2 separate regions of the Homo sapiens genome follow, and region 2 is linked to region 1. The links are contacts of gene promoters, found by promoter capture Hi-C in blood cells and fetal thymus (Javierre and others, 2016). All regions are on one chromosome and are shown on one strand. The core of a region is centred on a gene start or on the middle of the fragment in contact, and the rest is flanking DNA. Distances in the headings are between cores, read along the strand shown. Region 1 holds the start of CLPTM1L (CLPTM1 like). Region 2 holds the start of SLC6A3 (solute carrier family 6 member 3).

Region 1 (7,693 bases), core at 1,833-4,332:
ACCCCGTCTCTACTAAAAATACAAAAAATTAGCTGGGCGTCGTGGCGGGCGCCTGTGGTCCCAGTTACTCTGGAGGCTGAGGCACGAGAATGGCGTGAACCCAGGAGGCGGAGCTTGCAGCGAGCTGAGATCGCACCACTCCACTCCAGCCTGGGCAACAGAGCGAGACTCTGTCTCAAAAAAAAAAAAAAAAAAAAAAAAATCCTGCAGATGTTAGAATGCGCGGAAGAGAGAGAAACCCAAAGTGTGAATGAATACAGAGAGGCAGGAGATCCAACACCTTCCTCCCCAGGAAAGCCCGGGCACGAGGTCCCCGAGCTGAGCTGAGCCTGGGGGCTGGCTCCAGTCTCAGGACCGCCCACAGCCCTCACAGCAGGGTGTGTCCACATTCAGATGCCCTCCTCTCTCCCTCCATCCCCCTCCCAAGGCTGCATCGGCAGCTGTGGCCTCATAGGGAGAGGTGTGGTTTGGGGGTGATTTCCTATTTCCTTCGTGTCTGACCACTGCCCGAGGGCCTCACAAAGGAACCGAATCTTTTGGAGCCTGCATTTCCTGTCATCCTGAGTGGCCTTTGGAGTCCTCAATGTATAAGGACAGCAAGGGCCAGCTGTTCATGTTAGCTTTCTGGAACATTCCAGGCACTCCATGTACTAACAGGTTCCTTGCCAGAGGGCCCTCAAATGATGGAATTGATAAAAGCATTATAAAATGTTGATAAATTCTCTAACCATAGACGTGGAGCTCAGTGAGTACGAATGCAAGATGTGACTCCCCCAGGCCTAGAAAGAAAGCCTTAGCTTCAGAGACGTGGGTAACCTTGGCTCTCTACGGGAGTGAGGCCAACAAGGCCAGCAGAACAGGGTCAAGCAGCTCCTGTTGCCCAAGCAGCCACAGCCGCCTGGCCTTCACTGCATCCAGCTGTGCAGTGGCAGAGAGGATGCTGCGTGGGGACAGCAGGAGGAGAGGCCTTCAAGACCCAGGCCAGCTAAGCCTGGGGAGATAGAAGCAGCCACCACGCTGGGGGAGTGTGGACGCAGGAGTTTGAGGAGTTCTGCGGGGTGCTGAATGGGGTCCTCCTCTGGCGCTTTCTTGAGGGAGTTCTGCAATGATCCACATTCTTTCCAGGGACTTTCTTTCAAGTGCTGTCATATGCTGCCGCGGCTTGCCGGCAGCCCAGCCTCAGGCGGTCGGAGTCGGAAGGCGACAGATGCAGGGCTCCCTTTCCTCATCGGTTCTCTCAACAGGGCAGGGGGACGGCCATGAGTGGGCAAATGTGTCCAGACCACTGAAGAACCTCTCATCTGCTCAGCTGGAGAGGCCCTTCCTGTCTCTGTGATCTTTCCCAAGATGGCCAATGTCCTGTACCACCGGCCACCCCTTCCGTTGGTCACTGTGGATGACACTAGGGGTGGACACTGACCAAGGAGGCACCAACCTGATTCCAGCTCCTAGAGCTGGCCAGGTGCCTGACAGGAAAATGAGGCATCTGAAGAACACGGAGAGATGGGGGTAGGGTGGTAGGGAGGGAGGGAGATGAAGCCACACCCCAGAGCTCCTGGGTTTGCAGCTCCTTCCCGAGGCCTGGCTAGGTCCCTGCCTCGGTCCCTGCCTCTGGATGCCGTGAGACAATCCACCCTGGAGAGCCTACCAGTCCCCTTATGTTTGACAGCTGGAGTTGGAATTTGCCTCCCGCAGACCACAGGTCTACAGCCTTCATTCACGTGTCGCACAGACTGTGGCAGGACCAGCACCCGCTGCTGGTGTGGGACGCCTGGCCCTGTAGGGGACCCCAAGAGTGGCTGGAGAGCAGGGCGTGATGCCTCTTGGGCCACCCTGCAAAGGGCTCACGAGCCTCCTGAGGAGGATGCATTTGATCAGGGTAACAGGAGTCAGCAGAGGGCTTTCCAAGGACAGGTTTGCCAAGAAGCGAGAACAGACTGAGGGGGGAACGATAGAGGCACTGGGTGTAGTCAGACACCACTGCAATGGTAGCCGAAAACCGCGCCGTGAGAAGACTCTGTGGGGAGGGTAACTAGGTGCATGAGAGTGAGAGGAGCGAAAAAAGCCTCGGATGGCTCCGAAGCTCCTGGCCCAGCTTCCAGGGGTTGGTGGCCCAGGACCGCCCCTGCACGCGGCCTCGGGTGCCTGCTCCAGGCAGACCTGCTTCTCTGGCCCATTCTCGGCACCAATCACTGTCCCATCCGCCCGTCAGCCAAGTCCTCTGAGTTCTTCCCGGAGCCCAGCACCCTGATGCAATTGTCCCTGCTCTGAAAACCCTCAGCAATCTATTGGGTCTTCAGTAGCATCTACTCTTTCTAGAAATGTCGAACAAGGTTTTTCGATTGTGCTGCACGTGTGGCAGACACAGAAACGGAAACGACCTTCCAGAGAACTGGCCAAAGGACGGGAGCTGCTCCAGTAACTGAAGGGCACAGACTGAGCGCTTCTGATGGAGTCGGGGAGGTCGCCGGCCCATCCACCGGCTGCCCGAGGGCCTCCCACTGACCTCCCCCGGCCGCCCTCCGAGGGGCCTCTGCTGACCTCGCCGTGCTGGGCACGCTCGGCTTTAGCGGGAAGCTGGGGGTCAGGTTCAAGGCTGTGAGGAGCCACTTCAGCCCGGGAATCTGAATTTTTTCTTCAAAAGCGCCTGTCCCCACAATGGGTTTGTACTGGGGAAAAAACCCACACACGGGATGAGGTGCCCGGCTTCTGTGAGGGTTCTGAGCACTTCGTTTTTCTTCCCTTTAGATTCTGACAACTGTGGACTAAAAGGGTTGCAGGCCCAGTGCCGGAATTCCAGTATCACCTTCCACCAGGCTCCTCACACGTCGACATGGCCCCCACTTGGTGGTCTGGCAGGCGTCGGCGGTTGGGGACGGCGCCCCGGGGACCCCGCGGCCCTAGCCTTCCCCGGCGCCCCGCGAACGCCCTCCGCGGCCCCAGCAGCTGAGCGCCTGGGTCCCTGAGAGGCACCCCAGGAGGGCGGCGCGGGCGGGTAACGTCACACACGCGCCGCATCCTGGATGCGCGTGCGCGGCAGCGGCCGAGACTCCGTTTCCCAGGGAGCCGCGCGGCGCGTCCACTTCCGGCAGGCGGCGGGGCCCGGAAGCGGCGCGCGGGGCCGGCGAATCCCGCGGCGCCAGGTGGGAGCGGGGCCGGAGCATGCGGGGCGGCCGGCGGTCTGCGGCGCGCGGCGCATTCGTTCCCCCGCGGCGGTGGCGGTGGCGCGCGGCGGCTCTCCAGTGAGCGGCGGAGCCCGGAGCGGCGGGCTGGGCGCCGGGCGGGCGGGGCTCGCGGCTGAGAGGCGGGCGGGCCGGGGGCGCCGGGCGCGGGGCCGCCATGTGGAGCGGCCGCAGCTCCTTCACCAGCTTGGTGGTGGGCGTGTTCGTGGTCTACGTGGTGCACACCTGCTGGGTCATGTACGGCATCGTCTACACCCGCCCGTGCTCCGGCGACGCCAACTGCATCCAGCCCTACCTGGCGCGGCGGCCCAAGCTGCAGGTGAGCGTCCGCGGGGCCGGGGGCCGGGCGGGTTGGGGTGGGGGCCTCTCCTCCAGGCCCCAGACGTCGCCTTCCCGTCCCAGTTCGGAGCTGTGGCCGCGCGAGTCGAGATGGAACCTTTCCTGGTTCCCCAGCGGCCAGGTCTTCCGCCCTCCAGCTGGCCGTGGGATTTGAGTGCGTCCTGCCAGGGCCTGGCCGAGCTGACTCTCGACGCCCCCTCCTTTCCAGCTGAGCGTGTACACCACGACGAGGTCCCACCTGGGTGCTGAGAACAACATCGACCTGGTCTTGAATGTGGAAGACTTTGATGTGGAGTCCAAATTTGAAAGGTATGGGCGTAGGACAAAATGCCAGTGAAAGGGAAAACATTACTCATGTTCAGATTGTTTAAAAGTTAGCTTTCTGTACATAACATGTTTATTTTAGAGAACTAGTCTTACCGAATGTCTTGAAGTGGTAGAATATCCTAACTGGAGGCCTATGCGTGGCCTGTAAACATTCAGCCTGGAAGGTGACAGGTGATGAATGTCGTTTAAGAAGTAGTTCTCAGCAGAGTGTGATGGCAGTGGGATGTCCTGGACGGGGAGGCTCCGAAGGAGCAGGGGCCACGCTTGGTGAACCAGTGGAGAGCAGACAACTCTGCAGTTTCACTACCGGGGACCAACTTGTCTTTTCCTGGTGGAAGTAGTTCGCTTAAGTTACTTGTGAGGGAAAAGAGATGAGGATAGAGGAAGCAATTTTGTAGAAAATCATAAATAAGTGACATGTGACGTTAGAATAGATCAATGTCCAAATATGTAGAGTATCTTAAAAATTACATCTGACATGGCCTAATTTTTTTTAATTGAATAAGTATACTTTTAAATATGATTTGCTTCTCACAAGTCAACCATTTCCCTTCATTGCCTGGGAGGTATCTGAGGAGAGAATAATGAAAGTTTGAGACTCATGCTGGACTCCACGCCCTCTAGGCAGCCAGTCCCTGGGGGTAGCTGGAGGCGCTGGCAAGCCGGTTTCTGCCTGGCCTCTTTAGGCCTGTGACCTCAAGCCAGTTCCTGCCCTCTCTCTGCCTCCATGAAGGGGAGGCCAGAAGTGCTGGTGACCAAGCTGCCCGCTCGGTTGTAGCTGCCCACACCTTTCAAAAATGCTCAGGATTCATCTGCACTGGGTTTAATTTCCCAGACATGAATACTGCCTCTTCCGTGCCGGGCCGTGTACCAGTTACCAAGGACAGCTAGTGAGGTTTTCCATTTGACCTGGCACAGTGTCAGCCTGGAGGAAGTGGGGAGAATGAGCACTCTTAACACAGCTCCGCCTCAAGTGTCTCCAAGTGCACATTCCACCAGAAATACACAGCCCTGCACCCTCTGCCTGAAGAGAGACACTTAAGATGTCCTGGTGGAGACATACTCTTTCCTGGGTAGTGAGGAGCCATAGATGCCTTTGTGTTTTTCATTACAACTTTGGCCGTAAGATTTTTTTTTTTTTTTGAGATAGAGTCTTGCTCTGTTGCCAGGCTGGAGTGCAGTGGCGTGATCTCTGCTCACTGCAACCTCCGGTTCCCGGGTTCAAGGGATTCTCCTGCCTTAGCCTCCAAAGTAGCTGAGACTACAGGCACCCGCCACCACGCCTGGCTAATTTTTTTATTTTTAGTAGAGACAGGGTTTCACCATGTTGGCTGGGCTGGTCTGAAACTCCTGACCTCGTGATCTGCCCGGCTCGGCCTCCCAAGGTGCTGGGATTACAGGCGTGAGCCGCCGCACCCGGCCAACCGTAAGATTTTTAAGGAGAGGCCGGGCACAGTGACTCATGCCTATAATCCCAGCAGTTTGGGAGGCCAAGGCGGGAGGATCACTTGAGCCCAGCAGTTCAAGACCAGCCTAGGCAATGTGACAAAACCCCATCTCTACAACAGTTTTCAAAGTTAGCCAGGCATGGTGGCACGCCCACCTGTAGTCCCAGCTACTCGGGAGACTGAGGCGGGAGGTCACTTGAGCTCAGGAGGTTGAGGATGCAGTGAGCTGTGATTGCACCCCTACACTTTCAGCCTGGTGACAGCGAGACCTTGTCTCAAAAAAGAGACTTTTAAAGAGGAAGAAGAACTCATGTAACCGTAAACAGGTGGAATGCGAGGTTTTTCCATGGGGCTGTAGTATGGACGTCGGGCCCTGGTGTGCGGGTGAAGAGCCAGGCACCTGGTCCGAGGCCTACAGTTGTAGCAGCTCGCCGGGCCTTTCCTCAGCTCGTGCTGGATGCCACACAGTCAGGACTGACAGCCTTGAAAGTCAGTCCTTTGTGGCTGATCATCTTTTTATCCTTAAAACTACAACACCCAAAAAAACTACCCACATTAAATTTCTGAGGTTCCAGTAGTGTGGGCCGAGGCACCTGGAGCCCTCGTGGCTGCTGCCCTTCCCTTCTGTCGCTTCGGAGTTGGGTGATTCAGTGTGTGTGGTCAGCTGGTACCCTGGCCAGGCCCAGAAGCTGCTTTCCATCTGGCTGCTTCAGCCTTGTGGCCTCAGGTGGGTTATTGACCTCTCAGCCTCCTGAGATGGAGGCAGGAAGTGCGGGCCGTTTTGCTTTCGGCTGTAGGCGCCCACACCTGTGCCGAGTTCTCAGGACGCGCACGCGTGCGCGTGCACACACACACACACACACACACACACACACGACTCGTAAAGCCCTGGGCAGGTGGGTTTCATTTTTAGTACTTCTGAGCTAAAATTAGTTTATTGAAGCAGCTTTATAAAGGTATTTGAATAGGTTCTAGAGACCCAGAATATAATATGTATGTAGTGGAAATGATTGTTCTGTTTCAGGACAGTTAATGTTTCTGTACCAAAGAAAACGAGAAACAATGGGACGCTGTATGCCTACATCTTCCTCCATCACGCTGGGGTCCTGCCGTGGCACGACGGGAAGCAGGTGCACCTGGTCAGTCCTCTGACCACCTACATGGTCCCCAAGCCAGAAGAAATCAACCTGCTCACCGGGGAGTCTGATACACAGGTGAGGGTCTTCATGGGTTACTGATAACAGGCTGTGCCTCTCCGTCAGAACGGACATGTCTTTCTCCACACAGGTGGGCGATGTCTAGGGCTCCAGTGACTTTGTTGGGAGTAAAGCCAAAAGCCATTGGAATGTTACTGGCGTGCATTTCTGACTTTCAGCTGAATCATATCCATGAGTTTGCAGACAAGTTTTATCTAAAATTAGGGACAGTTGAAGTGATCGCTGGCATTCTCGATGCAGAGTCCCTCGGGGAATGGGCCCTCTCAGTCTCTGGGGGCACCTACTGCACCTGGTGGGATGGAGCGCTGGTCCTGCAGAGCTGGCCTGCAGCTTCTCACCAGGAGCTCTGGGGATGAGAGCTGGGCTCATTCTGCATTCTGTGTAGGACTGGGCTATTCCTAGATGTTTATTCTAAGAATGTAATTGGAGATCATGGAAAAGGTAGAGGTACAAGTTGTAGTTTGTACATCTGTAGAAAGGTGTATGCGCAAATAAAAACTGGAAGTCACTTAAGTGATCATGAATACAGGCCAAGGATAAAGCAAGGGAATTCTGACACCCACCTTTGTGTTGAGTGGAAGGTGAGATAATTTACAAAACAAGGCCGGGCGCAGTGGCTCATGCCTGTAATCCCAGCACTTTGGGAGGCTGAGGCAGGTGGATCACCTGCAGTCAGGAGTTCGAGACTAGCCTGGCCAACATGGTGAAACCCCGTCTCTACTAAAAATACAAAAATTAGCTGGATGTGGTGGCACGCGCCTGTAATCCCAGCTACTCAGGAGGCTGAGGGAGGAGAATCGTTTGAACCCGTGAGGTGAGATGATGCCACTGCATTCCAGCCTGGGCGACAGAGGGAGACTCTGCCTCAGAAAAATTTACAAAACAAGAAAGATGGCAGCTTTCCAGGAAGAGGCTGTGAAATTGTTCCAGACAGAGAGAAAGAGAGGTCTCTCGGAGTTGATGGGGTTTTGAAAGCCCTACCAACACCTGCTCCTGCCTCTCCCCAGTTTGCATCTGTCTCCTTAGGAACATCCCTCACCTGCCCCTCTCCGTGTCCCCTCATCTGGGGCCCCCATCCCTCCTCTCCAGTGTCCTGAAAAGTGGGTGGGGTGATGGGCATGTAGCATGTAGCGCAGGAAGCCTCCCTTGCAGGTAGCAAATGTGAGGAGGTGTGGAAAAC
Region 2 (7,693 bases), core at 3,369-5,868, 100 kb before region 1:
CCAGACCATTCGCCACTGCCTATGACTACATTTAGGGCCATCCTCTGGCCATCCCTCCTTGGCTAGATGATGAACCTGATGCATGGTTTGAATATGTGCCCACTGGGAAGCTTTCTTTCACTGGTCTTTCACAGAAGGCCATGATGACACAGCCTTTCACTTTCTGGTGGGGGCAGTGTGCTGTGTATAGACACATGTAATCCAGGCCCCAACGCATGCATTTTCTCCGTTCAATGTCATAAGAAACTCTCATGTAGCCAGAGGTCTGGGTTAAGGAAGCGGTCTCCATGCAGCAAGAGTGGGTGCTTGTTCATGGAACTTACCGCGCCTTCCAGACCTGCTCAAGCCTTGTGTCGTAAACATTCCACCTGAGGACGGCAGGATGCTGTCTACACAACCTCTGTGGGTCCGATAACAAATAGCTTCTGCTGGGCCGCTCAGCTTCTATGGTAACAGAGCTCCCTGAGTTTCTGCTATGGCTCAGGGCTGCTCTTACTCAAAAGGAGAGGACGTATTTTCAGGAGAGCGTTCAGCTCTTATTCAACTGTTATTTTCTGCGCTGCCTACAACATCTCCGTCTGCCACAGACCCTCCAATTCCCACTGGTTCTGCCAGATCAGTGTTCTCAAAGTGTGGTTCCTGGGCCAGCAGTGTCAGTGTCACCTGAGAACTTTCTAGAAACGCAGGTCCTCAGGTCCCACCTCAGACCTACTGAACCTGCGTCTCTAAGGATGGAGCGAGGTGATCTGTGCCTCCTATGCATGTAAAGGTTTATGTAGGTGACTGTGATGCCAGCTAAAGTCGGAGAACAACACCAGATTGTGTGGCCTCCTGGGGCAGCAGTTTGCCCATCCAGACCAGCAGCAGAATCTTTCTTACTCTGGGCCCTACTCAAAACCAAACGCTTTATGAAGAACACAAAACAGGCCAGAGAAGCATCCCCGAGTGTCTTGCACCTCACCTTGCAAACCGGAAGAGCCTCACCAGGTATGATACTTCTTTCTTAGTGGTAGTCTTGCTTGCCAGAGACAGCGTGTTTTCTTTCATTTTGGATATATATTTTGACCAATCAGACCAATGGACCCACAGAAAGTTCACCAAGGTGGCAGGTTTTGAAAATGTGTTATTTTCTCTTTCAATTTTTAGCAAGCACGTGTCTTACCAAGGCATCTTGGCATTTTTCATTTTTTGCTCCCCAGGTTGATTCAGCCTGATGTCATCAGTGTGGCAGACCACTGTGACATGCTGTGCAGTGGCAAGACCATCAAGATGTCTGTGACTAAAACCAGCAGTGAGCCGGAAAATGATACAGCTCTGAGAGAAGACATTGGAAGTGTACTGCTGTCCCTGCCATGCGAGAGGAAACTATCTTCCTCCTGAGGTGGCCCCCGGGGAGGGCACAGGGGTGCAGCAGTGAGCAGGGCCTCCTGCCTGGAGCCAGCGCCTTCCATCATTCTCAGAACCTGGACAGACAAGGTCTGGGATCTGACCTCCCACACCCCTGGACAAAAGCCACTCCTGCCTACTGGTCCCCTCACCCTTGCCCTCCCCAAGCCCCCTACCCCCAGGGCCTTCCCAGCACCAGTGAGAGGTCAGGGTCTTTAAAGTCTGAGCTGGGCTCCCTGGGACTTCCTCTGAAAGCACACAGGACACCCTCAATATAGTAAATACGCAGGCAGGTAAATGACTGTCATCTCACTGCCACTGTCCTTGTCCCCTCTCAGATACAGCACTCATGGGGGGAGCATCCACGCTGTCTTCCAAATCAGGCGAGACACGGCGCAACATCCAGCACTGAGGGCCTCCCAGGAGGCAGCACCCAAGGAGGGGGGGACCCGTGGGGCAAGGTTGCTTTGGAGACAGCAGTCAGTGGCCAGGGGCTCCTTGTGGGCTCTGCAGCTGCGGTCCCAGCCAGTGGGGAGAGGTGCCGAGCATGGGCAGGAAGTGCAGAGGCAGGGGGGCTCCACCTGCCTGCACCCAACGCCCTGAGCCCACAGCAGCCATAGCAGCAACCACAATGATAATAAAGCCGACTTGGCATTTAGGGCAAAGTTCCAAGCATGCAAAGGTCGGCCGTTTGATCAGGTCTGATCAGCTCATAACCACACTGCTTCTACCTGCACAGTTCACGGAGCATTCCTGTTGTGGGAGGATGGAGACCCATGGGTCTGGCAGCTGCGCTTTCTCTGTGTCATCCATGAGCCCAACTCCCGCAGTTAGTTTGTTCTTAGAGCACCCAAAGCTCCTTTATCCTAATTCATGTGGTTGGAAGTCGGGGTTGAGGCAGGGGTGGAGGAATGCTCTTTGTCTTGGCAGAGTGCAGGTTACATGCGTGTGATCACTCAGTGGCCCCTCCTGAGTGTGGCAGGTGCATTCTCTGTGTGCTACTGGTCAGTAAGGATGTGGCTGCCTGGATCTGTGTGACCTCTAGTCCCTGCACCTTCCTGCCTGTACCCTGTTAGCTTTGGGTCACAATTCTGCGCTCCTGCAGCGCTTGCAATCCCTTCCCAAACGCTGTTTGCCTGTGTGTTGTTTTGTTTCGAGACAGGGTCTCATCCTGTGGCCCATGGCGCAATCTCAGCTCACTACAACCTCCACCTCCCAGCTTCAAGCTATTCTCCCACCTCTGCCTCCCCAGTAGCTGGGACTACAGGTGTGGGCCACCATGCCTGGCTAATTTTTTTTTTCAAAGTCAGGGTTTTGCCATGTGGCCCAGGCTGGTCTCAAACTCCTGGCCTCAAGAGATCCTCCTTCCTCGGCCTCCCAGAGTGCTGGGATTACAAGCGTGAGCCCTCACTCCTGGCCTGTGTATTTTTAATATACCTGAACATCCATTCTCTCTGTGTGTTTTATTTAACAGCCTCCCTTAGTCACCTGCAAAGTCTTTTCCTTGGGAGACTGTTTCCTCAACCCTGCTGCTCTGGGGCCAAGCCCTGGCTCACTCCTTTTTATTGAAACCTGTGCCATGGAGATAATAGGGGTAGAGAGATCCCTTCTGTGGCAGCCACTGACACACTACAGCTTCGAGGTGGCACATCCCCCTCTCCTGAAGTCCCCTCACCTCCCTGGCGATGAAGTCCCACCCCTGATGGGAGGTGGTGTCAGGAGGCCTTCAGGTGGTCAGGCCAGGAGGGCTCCACCCTGAGGAATGGGACCAGTGCCCTCATAAAACAGACCCCGGAGAGCTCTCCCCAGCCCCTAGCGTGGGGAGATACAGGGAGAGAACTGTCTGCAACCCCGAAGCGGCCCTCACCAGACACAGAGTCGGCCAGGCCTTGGCCTCGGGACACCGGAACCGTTAGAACTGAAGGCTTCTGTGTGAGCCCCCAGGCTGTGGAGTTTTTTGTCATGGCAGCCCCAGGGGGTCACTAGGCTCCCACTTGATTCCAACTCAGCGTGAAGTCACAGCCCTGAGTGCCTTCTGCCTGGGTGCCAGCCCCGGAGCCGGGGAGCGGGGGAGCGGGGGGCGGGGAGGGGAGTGGTGGTGTGCGGGGAGTGCGGGGCGGGCGCAGGGGGTGGGGCACCGCGCTGCGGGCGGGTACTGCGGAGTCAGGCACCAAGGGTCCCTGCCTCCCTCACTGCTGAGCGCGGGCTGCAGGCTGGAATGGCTGGAGAGCCCCAGGGCTCGCCTGGACGCCCAGGGCAGGGTGCTCACGGGAGCATCGAGGGTACACGGGGAGGAACGCCGGGGTTCGGGCGACCCTAGGGGCGACGCACAGAGCTGGGCGCGGCCACTCACCTCGGTGCCTTCTAAGGACCTGGACATCCTGGGCCTTGGCGGCCTGGGGGCTCCATTCCTCCGCGCGCTGAATGGAAGAAATCCCGCCCGGGCATCTCGGAAGGAAAGCCTCGGAGTCCATTCGGCCCTGGAGCCGGATACCAACCGCCAGGGCTTTCCAGGCCCGTCCCGGGAAATGGTTTTCTTAGGCGAGTGCGAGGCGGGCCCCTCGGTTCCGATGCAGGCGCACTAGATGCCGGCAAGGCGGGGACTAGGCCTAGGGGACCTCGGTCGCCTCGAGGTCGCGGAGACCCCAAGGCCACGGAAGGACCCGCGTCTCCGCAGCCCGCACGCCGGGAAGCGTGCAGAGTCCTCGGCGGGGTCCCGAGCCCGCTGGTCAGAGCGTGGAGCGGCGGGGTGGGAGGGACGTGGTCCCCAGAGCGCGGGGCCACCGTAGGGGCCCCTGATGGGGAGGGAGGGAAGGGTCGGCCCGACGGGGTCCCAGCAGTTCCCCGCGCGCAGCCGCTCGGCTCCCTCCCCGTCCAGCTGGGAGCCGCCAGCCCTGGGCGTCCGAAGATAGCGGGTGCCCGGGGCAGCCCCCAGGGGTGCGGGCGAGGGCGCAGGGCGGCCCAGACAGTTCCCGCGTGGAAGGCGCCCGTCTAGATCCGCGACGTCTCGGACCCCCAGGCCCCCGCACCCCGTGTCCGAGGCTCCGGGACGCGCAGGACAGTGGAGCCGTGGCCGCCGCTTGCTCCCAGCCATCTGCGTCCGGGAGGCGGGGGCGGGGGCGCGGCCCGGGGAGGTGAGGAGGAGGAGCCAGGACGCGAGGGCGACCCCGTCGGCGGGAGGGCGGGGCGGGGCGGACCCTGTCTACTGGATAAGAGCCCGAGGCCGAGGCTGAGACCGCCCAGCGCTGCGGAGCGGGAGGGGAGGCTTCGCGGAACGCTCTCGGCGCCAGGACTCGCGTGCAAAGCCCAGGCCCGGGCGGCCAGGTGAGGCCAGCGTCGCTCGCGGCATCGGGGCGCCCCGCTCCTTCCGCAGACCCCGAAGTGGGGCGCAGGGGCGGGGGCCGGGGACCGGGCACAGTCTGGGGTCCCCGCGTCCCGCAGACCGCGCCGTCTCCAAAGTCGCCAACAGTCGCGGGTGCCGAGCGCCCCCCGATAGCGCCACATGGGACCCTGAGGCCGTCCGAGGCGCGAGGAGGGTGCAGGGCTGCCCCTGGCCCCGCTCCAGGCTCAGAACCGGGTGGGCACCTGGTGCAGTCACCGGCTTAGGGGACGCGTGGGTGTCTATGGCTGTGACTCGGGGGTCCTGGTTTCTTCTCGTGGAACTTAACCCTACTAGGGGTGCGGCGCATCCCAGATCCGATCGGAGTGGGTTTTGTACACCGCCGCTCCATCTCGCGGGGGCTTTGTCTGTGTTGGGGGTGGTGGCGGGCGCGGGCTGCGCGCTGGTGCTCTGGGCAGGGCGGGGAGGCCGGGCGAGGACTCGCCAGGCAGCGCCGCTTCTTGTTCTGGGCGCGGTGAGGAAGGACGCTTTCTAACGGGCCACATTTTGCTGTGTAGACCCAAAACTCGCCTCTGAGGCCCCGCGTTCAGGAGCGGGGTCAGGTGGCCCCAGGGCGGCGGCGGCTTGCCGGAGACTCGCGAGCTCCGCACCCGACGCCCTCTCCCAACGCGGCCTCCTGCTCGCGCCGCGGAACCCCTTCGTCGGGTGTTTTACCCACCGGAGGGGTCGTGCCGGTTGAGGTTGTCACCGGGTGCGTGGCATAGCTCGTGATAGCTCATGGGTGAGGTTTTGTGCAAACTTGGATGCAGGGAAAGTTGCCTGTTAGAGCCTCCACCTGCGACCTGCTTCAGTCGTTGTGTGTGTGTGCGCACCTGTGTGAGTGTGAGTGTGTATGTGTGTAAGTGTATGTGCTCGCCTGTGTGTGTGTGAGTGTGTATGTGTGTTTGTGAGTCTGTGTGTGTCTGTGTGTCTGTGTGTGCGTGCGCTCGACTGAAACACGCTGCTGCTGGATCCAAATGACAGAAGTCGCCCTGGCTGGGGCGGTGTAGACGCTCCTGCTCTCCTGCTCAGCGTTGCAGGGGGGTTTATGTAGCCGTTTGGACAGGATTTCCCGGGTTACCCTGCTGGCCCAGGAGCTAGTTCCCGCGATGAAGCCCTGTCCATCCTCCGCCCAGCTCTCTCACGCGGGGTGGTGCCACCTGCCCTAGGTGGATGTGGCTTGTACAGACACTTTTTGAGGAAGCAGTTGTGATGGTTATGTCTAAACTCTCTTTACAGTGGCTGATTTTGCTTATATAAATTTTGCTCTTTATTACTGAGTATAAACAATACAAGCCCAGGCTTGGTGGCTCATGCCTGTCATCTCAGCACTTTGGGAGGCTGAGGCAGGAGGATCGCTTGAGACCAGGAGTTCAAAACCAGCCTTGGCAACAATAGTCAGACCCTGTCTCTACAAAAAAACAACAACAACAACAAAAAAACACACACAAAAATAACTTAGCCGGTGCTGTGGTGCACACCTGTAGTCTCAGCTGCTCAGGAGGCTGAGGTGCAAGGATCACTTGAACCTAGGAGGTTGAGGCAGTGAGTTGTAATCACAACTGTATTCCATCCTGGGTGACAGAGCGAGACCTCATGTTAAAAAAGAAAAAAAAAAGAAAAAAGAATACAGATGAACAGTCATGAAGACATTATTGAATGCTCTTAGAAGATTGTAAAATTGCTCTCTGGAAGTGTGGGGGAAGGTGGAAGTGATATCCATGCATTGTTAGTAGAAAGCCACGCTAGAGCTCACACAGCCTTGCACTTTGATAGGAGTGGGGAGGGGTGCAGGGGAAGGAGGAGCAAACCAGAGTGTCTGTCTTGAGGCCTCCATGGGCCAGTGCCCCAGCCCTGTGGTGAGGGCTGGCACTTCCCAGCTCCCGTGCCCCAGCTGTACCATCTCAGGCGCTGAGAACGCACCCATCCCTTCCCAGAGGAATGCCCGTGAATGCCTCGGGGCTCTGCCCTCCGCACCAGGTATGTCCCTAGCCCTGGCTGCTGAATTGTTGCGTTCCTGTTGTGTGTTTATTTTTCATATTGGCTGAAGACCAAGAGGGAAGAAGCACAGAATTCCTCAACTCCCAGTGTGCCCATGAGTAAGAGCAAATGCTCCGTGGGACTCATGTCTTCCGTGGTGGCCCCGGCTAAGGAGCCCAATGCCGTGGGCCCGAAGGAGGTGGAGCTCATCCTTGTCAAGGAGCAGAACGGAGTGCAGCTCACCAGCTCCACCCTCACCAACCCGCGGCAGAGCCCCGTGGAGGCCCAGGATCGGGAGACCTGGGGCAAGAAGATCGACTTTCTCCTGTCCGTCATTGGCTTTGCTGTGGACCTGGCCAACGTCTGGCGGTTCCCCTACCTGTGCTACAAAAATGGTGGCGGTAAGTCCCATCTCAGCCTCCCTGAGCATGCTGGCCGGGCGGGGGTCGTAGGGGCAGCCGGGGCCAAGGCACGTACGGAAACGAGATGAAGCTGTTCCCATGCGTGAAGACGGAGCTCCCTGTGAGAGCTCACGGCCGGTGCAGATCCTCCCAGAGGATGTCACAAAACCATTGAGCAGGACTCGGAGCTGCCTTGTCCCACGCCTGCATTTCAGAGTTTAGGAAAGGGAGGCCCGCGAAGAAGCTGGGGGGTGGGGGGCGGCAGACGGGGCAGCTTGGCTCTGCCTCCTGTTTCCAGAGGCTATCTTCGCTTTGGAAAGAAAATTCTCAAAGGTCCAAAGAACAGCCTGCGGCTGACTTTGGCAGCCTTTGCAAAGCATGTGGAGGCCCTGGAGCCTGGAGTGGCAGAGGAGGCCCCTGGAAAGTGACTGTGTCCCCTGCACCCTCCAGAACCCAGCCACAGAGCCAGAAAGCGAAGATCGAGGCAGGGCCACCGGGGACGTCCAAGAACATTGGTGATCCCTTCCCAGGAGCCTCTTTGGGCCTC

What was found. Contacts are between HindIII fragments. The CHiCAGO score rates a contact against its expected background, and 5 or more counts as called.
Region 2: a contact is called between the fragment with the promoter of SLC6A3 here and the fragment with the promoter of CLPTM1L in region 1, in 12 of 17 cell types (neutrophils, monocytes, M1 macrophages and 9 more). The highest score is 12.5, in neutrophils.

The regions. Positions count from the first base shown.
Region 1 is chr5:1,340,488-1,348,180 of GRCh38, reverse strand. It overlaps CLPTM1L (CLPTM1 like), which reads left to right and starts at 3,082. Exons shown (of 17, transcript NM_030782.5): 1 at 3,082-3,501; 2 at 3,730-3,830; 3 at 6,321-6,510. The coding sequence starts at 3,340. RefSeq lists a cis regulatory region at 7,195 and an enhancer at 7,123-7,267. The HindIII fragment of the contact is 23,624 bases long and covers 1-7,693 here.
Region 2 is chr5:1,442,365-1,450,057 of GRCh38, reverse strand. It overlaps SLC6A3 (solute carrier family 6 member 3), which reads left to right and starts at 4,618. Exons shown (of 15, transcript NM_001044.5): 1 at 4,618-4,710; 2 at 6,816-7,146. The coding sequence starts at 6,861. RefSeq lists an enhancer at 3,481-3,980. The HindIII fragment of the contact is 13,596 bases long and covers 113-7,693 here.